Regions from separate parts of the Homo sapiens genome. Here region 2 is linked to region 1. Evidence: promoter capture Hi-C in human tissues and cell types (Jung and others, 2019). All regions are on one chromosome and are shown on one strand. Each heading gives the region's core, a stretch centred on a gene start or on the middle of the fragment in contact. The rest is flanking DNA. Distances are from core to core; before and after follow the strand shown. Region 1 holds the start of DEAF1 (DEAF1 transcription factor). Region 2 overlaps IFITM10 (interferon induced transmembrane protein 10).

Evidence for each region. The method cuts DNA at HindIII sites, captures the fragments that hold promoters and counts their contacts. A contact is called where the count stands out against the background at its distance.
Region 2: a contact is called between a fragment that was not itself captured here and the fragment with the promoter of DEAF1 in region 1, in 1 of the 25 tissues and cell types used here (spleen).

The regions. Positions count from the first base shown.
Region 1 is chr11:693,627-697,168 of GRCh38, forward strand. DEAF1 (DEAF1 transcription factor) reads right to left here and starts at 1,596. Exons shown (of 12, transcript NM_021008.4): 1 at 1,133-1,596. The coding sequence starts at 1,421. TMEM80 (transmembrane protein 80) reads left to right here and starts at 2,190. Exons shown (of 5, transcript NM_001042463.3): 1 at 2,190-2,220. The coding sequence starts at 2,202. RefSeq lists silencers at 968-1,217, 1,238-1,357, 1,368-1,667, 2,168-2,587 and enhancers at 1,033-1,572, 1,573-2,114, 2,115-2,654, 3,195-3,542. The HindIII fragment of the contact is 41,051 bases long and covers 1-3,542 here.
Region 2 is chr11:1,730,170-1,733,711 of GRCh38, forward strand. IFITM10 (interferon induced transmembrane protein 10) reads right to left here. Exons shown (of 3, transcript NM_001170820.4): 3 at 2,237-3,542. Among named protein-coding and RNA genes, the nearest start is that of IFITM10, 19 kb to the right of the region's middle. The HindIII fragment of the contact is 4,222 bases long and covers 1-3,542 here.

The DNA.
Region 1 (3,542 bases), core at 346-2,845:
AATGGGGAAGAATACAGTGCGTTAGGAAGCCAGTGGGTGGGGAAGTCTATGCCCCACGGACACAAGGGCGGGACACAGGAGGTGGGTGGACGGCACCAGCCCCGTAGGGCATCTGTGAGCTCTGCCACGGGCTCCCAGTGTTTTGGAGCCTGAGAAGGAGACTGACCTGTGTGGCAAGAAACTATAAGCAGCTTATATAAAAATGTGGACTGGAAAGCCACAGCAGCCTCCCCAAAGGAAGCCCGACAGGAAGCGGGGCAGGAGGAGCAGGTCCTTAGGGAAAAAGGCAAGAGGAAGAGGGAGGACTGGGAGGGGAGCCTGCACAGGTGGCTCCGCAGCCCCCCTGGGCCACCACACAGCCACGCTGACCTCTGGCATCATGGCCTCCAGCAGGCTGCCCACCCCTGGCTCCCCAGCGCTCAGGTCATGCCTGAACTGGCCCTCAGGAAGTGGGGGGTTCCTGGTGACCACAGGTGCCCACCCACCCCAGGGCTTCTCCAGGACAGGTGGGGGGAGCCAGGATGGACGAAGGCAGGGCAGGGGCAGAGCTGCACAGGGGGGACCAGTAGGAGGCGGGGCTGCCACAAAGAAAAGGGGGGCAGGGGGCAGGTGTGTGCAGGGCAGGGCCAGGTCAGGTGAGGCTAGGCAGGTCACCAGGGGCAGGTGTGCGGGGCAGGTGTTTGGGGTAGGTGGGGCAGGCTGGTCACCTGGGGCAGGTATGTGGGGCAGGTGTGCGGGGCAGGTAGGGCAGGCCGATCACGTGGGGCAGGTGGGGAAGGCTGGAAACGTCGAGCAGGTGTGCGAGGCAGGTATTTGTGGCAGGTGGGGCAGGCTGGTCACCTGGAGCAGGTACGTGGGGAAAGTGTGAGGGGCGGGTGGGGCAGGTGTGAGAGGCAGATGTGAGGGGTGAGCTAGTCACGTGGGGCAGGTGTGCAGGGCGGGTGGGGCGGGCGGGTCACGTGGAGCAGGTGTGAGGGGCAGGTGTGCAGGGCGGGTGGAGCGGGCTGGTCACGTGGAGCAGGTGTGAGGGACAGGTGTGGCGGGCTGGTCACCTGGGACAGTTGTGCGGGGCAGGCGCGCGGGGTAGGCGCGCGGGAACCGGACGAGGCGAGAGGCCGGCGGGCGCACTTGCCTGCGAAGGCTGCGGCAGCGGCGGCCTCGTCGGGGCCGGGCAGGGCCTCGGCGCCCATGTCCATGTGCCCGGGCTCCGCCGCCATCACCGCCACTGCCGTGACCCGCGGCGTCTCCCGCTCCGCCTCCGAGTCTGCGTCCTCCTCCGAGTCCTCGTCCCTGCTCAGCACCGGCTCCTCCGCCTCGCCTCCTGCCGCGGCCGCGGCCGCCGCCGCCACAGCGGCCGCGGCCGCCACCGCCGCCGCCTCAGCCAGGCCCAGCTGCTTTGCCGCCGAGTCCGAGTCCTCCATCCGGACTCCGCCGAGCCTTCCCGAAGGCGCCGTCCGGGACCGCCCGAAGCGCCGGTCGCGGAGCCCGAAGCGGGGCCCGAAGAGGACGCCCGAGCTGGGCCGAGGCCGCCCGAAGCCGCCGCCCGAATAGGGACCGAAAAGGCAGCCAGCCGCCGAGCAGAGCCGAGCCGAGTCCGCCCGCGGAGCGGAGCCGAGGCGAACAGAGGCTGCCCGAGTAGGAGCCGAACCTGCACGAAGCCGCCGAGCCGAGACCGAGTCCTGAACCGAGGAGGGTCGAAGTTCCCCGAAGTGGGAAGCCGAATCAGTCCGAATAGGTCCGAGTCCTCACGAGGGCTTCCGAGAGACTCGGCCCCTGCTCTCCTCACTGTCCTGACAGGCTGAGGCGGCTGTCGTCCCCGGCCGACAGGGCTGGACGGCTCTAGGCAGATTCTCGCCGGCGGCCGGCGCAATTCTGCCTCTCAGAGAGAGCTTAGTGCCGCGGGTTTCGCCCGTTCCCGCCGCCGGCGGAAGCCGAGTCAGCCCGAGGCCGAGCCGAGACGAGCCGAATGTCCCCGAGGCCGAATGCTCCCGAACGTCGGTTCTCCACCTCTTCCCTTCCGAAAGTGCCCGAGCGGTGCCGGACGGACTAATCGGGCCTCGGCCGTGGCTCGGACGTCCGCTCCCGAAACGCGGCGCGGTCGGGCCCCTTCGTCAGGAGACGCGAAAATGGCCGAAGGAGCGCGAGCGCGCGGGCCGAGAGGCTGCCGGGATCGCGACGGACCGGCGGGCGGGGCGGGTAAGATGGCGGCCCCGCGGCGAGGTGAGCTCGGGCGGGGTGGGGGCTTCCGGGCTTGCAGCGGCGGGCGCGGCGTTTCCCTGTGGTGACAATCCGGTTTCCGCTTTCGGTGCGCTCACGGGGCCGTGCCACCGTCTCTACGTGAGCGAGACAGCTCCGTCACCCCATCGAGAAGCGCGGCCTGGCCTGGCCTGGGTGGCGGGCGTCCTGCACCCCGAAGAGCTCCCCCGCGCGCGGGCGCCTGGCCCCGGGCAGGGTGGGTGCGGAGCGGCTCTGGGGGCCCCAGTCCCCGGCAGCTCTTGTCCCGCGCGTGGTTTTTGTGAAGACACGTGGGCGGGATGGGCGCAGGGTTTCGGTAGCCTTGGAACTCTCGCCAAAGAAAATCGCGGGCGCCGGTGCCTCAGCCGTCCTGCCTGAGAGACTCGCCTCCGAGAGGAGGAAGGGACAGACCAAAGCAGTAAATCGGCCATCCTGCAGAGGAGCCGCCTTCTGCTGTCTGTGGGTACAGCCAGAACTCCCATACGCGGGCGCTGAAGTGCCAAACCTTCGTGCGTGTTCTCTAGTAATTAGGTGCATTGTTTTGAAGGAATAAAGAATGGCTACTCCATAGGCAGGACAGCCTCTAGTAACCAGGTTTGTTTTGTGTATTTTCATTTGGTTAAAAATTAAGTTTAGGTTGGGCGCAGTGGCTCAGGCCTGTAAGCCTGACAGTTTGGGAAGCCGAGGCTGCAGGATCATTTGAGGCCAGCCTGGGCAACATAGCAAGACCCCCTCTATAAAAAAAAAACTGTAAACATCAGCCAGGCGGTGGCGCACCCCTGTGGGCCAAGCTATTCTGGAGGCTGAGGCTGGCGGATCACTTGAGCCCAGGAGGTCGAGGTTGCAGTGAGCCGTGATGGCGCCACTGCACTCCAGCCTGGGCGACAGAGCGAGACCCCCTTCTACAAAAAAAAAATTAAAAATTACCCCGGGGAAGGCCAGGCGCAGTAGCTCACGCCTGTAATCCCAGCACTTTGGGAGGCCAAAGCGGGCGGATCACCTGAGGTCGAGGGTTCAAGACCAGCCTGACCAACATGGAGAAACCCCGTCTCTACTAAAAATACAAAATTAGCCTGGCGTGATGGTGCATGCCTGTAATCCCAGCTACTTGAGAGTCTGAGGCAGGAGAATTGCTCGAACCCGGTGGTGGTGGTGGGGGGGGTGGGGTGCGGAGGTTGCAGTTGGCCAAGATCGCACCATTGCACTGCAGCCTGGGCAACAAGAGCGAAATTCTGTCTCAAAAAAAAAAAAAATTACCTCAGGGAGCCTGTGGTCCCAGCTACGTGGGAGGCTGAGGCTGGCGGATC
Region 2 (3,542 bases), core at 584-3,083, 1.0 Mb after region 1:
AATCGGTTTTCTCTGGCTGCTTTTAAGGCATTTTCCTCTGTGTCTCTGGTGCTGTGCAGTTCCACTGTGATGTACTCAGCCGGGGATTTACTGTTCTATCGTGTGGGCTTCACTGGTCTCAAATTGGTGGGTTGATGGAGCTTATCAGCTGTGGGCCATTTTCAGATGCTGTTTCCAGTGACTACTTCTGCTTCTTCCACCATCACAGCCTCTCTGGCCAGTCTCCCAAGAGCACATCTCCCGTCCTGGCTGCGAGCGGCCCCGACCACCCCTGCAAAGCCTCCAGCTCAGCAGGTGGATGTGAAGTCGGGGTGGGGAGGAGATTCCTGTCCCTTTTCTGTCTCAGAACAGTTCCCCTCTCCGCCCAGTCCCTGTCAAGGACAGTTCCTCTCATCCTGAGGTTCAGTGGGCCCTGTGGTTTTGTGGGGTCAGAGACTTCCCTGGCCCCTTGTGCCCCCATCCATCTGAGCTAGTCAGCTGCATGCTATGGGAGGAGGACCCCAGGGAGCGTATATTGCTGGTCTCTAAAGCCCCCGTGGGACAGCTGAGCACATGCAATTAGGAAAGAATGTTATGCGGATTTCCAGTGTCTGGAGAAGAGGCATCAAGCTCCACCACCTGCAGGAATGGGCAGTGGCTTGGCAAGGGCAGGGGAGCCTGGAGAGCTCTGGACCACTGTGGTCAGGGGAAGGGAGGCTGGGGGATGACCCTATAGCACCTCCTCCCCAATGCACACACATCTTACACATGCACACACACACAATACACACATGCAGACATACACAACACACACATGCACACAGCCACACGCAGCACATATACACAATACACACATGCACAGTCACATACATGCACACATGTACACAAAACACACACATGTGAAGACACACACATGCACATATACATAATACACACATGCACACAGTCACACACACATGCACACAGCCACACACAGCATATACACAATACACACATGCACACACATCTTACACATGCACACAGCCACACACAGCACACATACACAATACACACATGCACACAGCCACACACAGCACACACACACAATACACACATGCAGACATACACAACACACACATGCACACAGCCACACGCAGCACATATACACAATACACACGCACACACATCTTACACATGCACACAGCCACACACAGCACATATACACAATACACACATGAACAGTCACATACATGCACACATGTACACACAACACACACATGTGCAGTCACACACATGCACATATACATAATACACACATGCACACAGTCACACACACATGCACACAGCCACACACAGCACATATACACTTATGCACGGCCACACACGTACACACAACACACACACACATACATAGTCACACACATGCACACAGTCACAAACATGCACATACAACACATCCACATGCATGCATACACATGTACACACAACACATCCACATGCATGCATACACATGTATACACAACACATCCACATGCATGCAGTCACACACACTCACACAAAGCACATTTACACACATGCACACAGTCATACATGCACACCCTTGTACACACAACACACACACATGCACACAGGCACACACACATGCACACATAACGTGAATATCACGTGCAGTCACACACATGCAAACACACACACAGTTACATACATTCAAACACATGTGCACATAATACATGCATGCATAGAGTCACACACACATGCAGTCACACACAACACATACATGCACACAGTCACACAGAAGCAGTCACACACACATGCACCACATACACAGACAAAAGCACACAGGCACACACACTACACACACACACGAACACATATGCACACAGTCTCACACACACACACACACACACACAGATGCACAGTGAGGCTCAGCCTTTACAGTCCCCTCAGTCTTGATCCTTTATTTATTTATTTATTGAGACAGGGTCTCACTCTGTCACCCAGGCTGGAGTGCAGTGGTGCAATCACGGCTCACTGCAGCCTTGAGCTCCTGGGCACAAGCAATCCTCCTGCCTCAGTCTCCCAAAGCACTGGGATTATAAGCATGAGCCACTGAGCCAAGCCCCAATCCTTTTAAACTGGCCTGTTGGGCTGGGGTCCCAAGGGCAGTGACCAGGGCAGCATGGGGAGAGGGGAGGGTAGGGAAAGTCACCTGACTCCCCAAAGATGCACAAATATATGGAGGCACACAGGGAGAAGGACAGAGAGAGTGAGAGGGGGATTGATTCTTTCGTTCGTACAATGTTTATTGAATGTCAAATGTCTGCCAGGCACTGTGCAAAATCACATAAAAATGAGGTGGGAGGAGTGCAGTGGACAGGGAGCGCCAGCAGGTCAGGCATGAGTACAGACAGGCAAAGACACAGACTTCGAAGCCAGAGACCAGCGCCGGAGCTGATGCCTGCTTGCCTGCCTGCTGAGGGCGAGAATGCACCTGCTGTGGGGGCCTGACCTCACCGTGGACACCCACCGCGGGAGCACCAGCCCTCCCCCGGTCCCCAGGGTATGGAAGCCAGGGGCCTTTGTAGCCCCACATTGCCCGGAGTTGGATACAAACATCCCAAGAGCTAGGGGTGCCTTTACTGGCTGGAAGGTGACCGTTCCATTTCCCCAACATGAACTCAGAAAGCTTCAGCCAGGCGCAGGAACATCCCAGGGAAAAGCTGGCTGAGGGCTTCCCTAATGCAGGGGTGTTTCCTCCTGGCCCCTGTCCCAGGCAGCCACCAGCACTGCCACCAAATGTTTAAGGAAAATAGGCAAAGAAAGCATTTGCCCCTCTACTTTCTTCCCTCCCAGGCATAACATGGAAGACACCTGGACACTGGGGTTGGCCTTAGCTGCCCCAGGAACTAGAAGCCAGGACCCTCTCTCTTCCAAGGCCCAGCAGCCTCTGCCATCCTCTTCCAGCCCAGGCTTGTCCAGGAAGCCTCTGGGTCTAATGGTGCAAGCATCCGAAGTGCCCACAACCAGGCTGCCCACAGTCTCGGCAAGGCTTTCAGCCGCCCCTGGCACTTCTCCCACCATCCTCCAAGAGGCTCAATGACAGCTCCGTGCAGCCCCGCATCAGCCTCGCAGCCCGCCGCCTCCTGCCCTCCCATCCCACCACTGCCTGGGTTCAAGGGTCAGTGCTCAAGAGTCCCACATGGTCCCCACCCTGTCCCCTCTCTCGACTCTGACCCCCAAGCCCTCCCATTTTGAGGTCACACACTCCCCTCCCCTCTTCCCTGAGCACCCCCTCCATCCACCTCTGCCTGGGCTGCACCCCAGGCCCACGGGCAGGTGCTGGCCACCCTCCCTTCCTCTGCAGGTTTCTGGGTCAGGACTGTGACCAGAATCTTGCTCGCTGCACTCCTGCCACGGCTGTGCCCTGTCCCCTGCGTTTGTCCCATCTGCTGCTAGCTCAAGGTCCTCCCTTCTGAGGCACCCCACGTCTCCAGCCCAGAAGGCTCTTCCCTTCTCTGCTTGGTATCTTAAAGTCAACATCTTCTTCTCCCTGGTTTCCTGCCCTTGGTACACAGCCCTCTCCA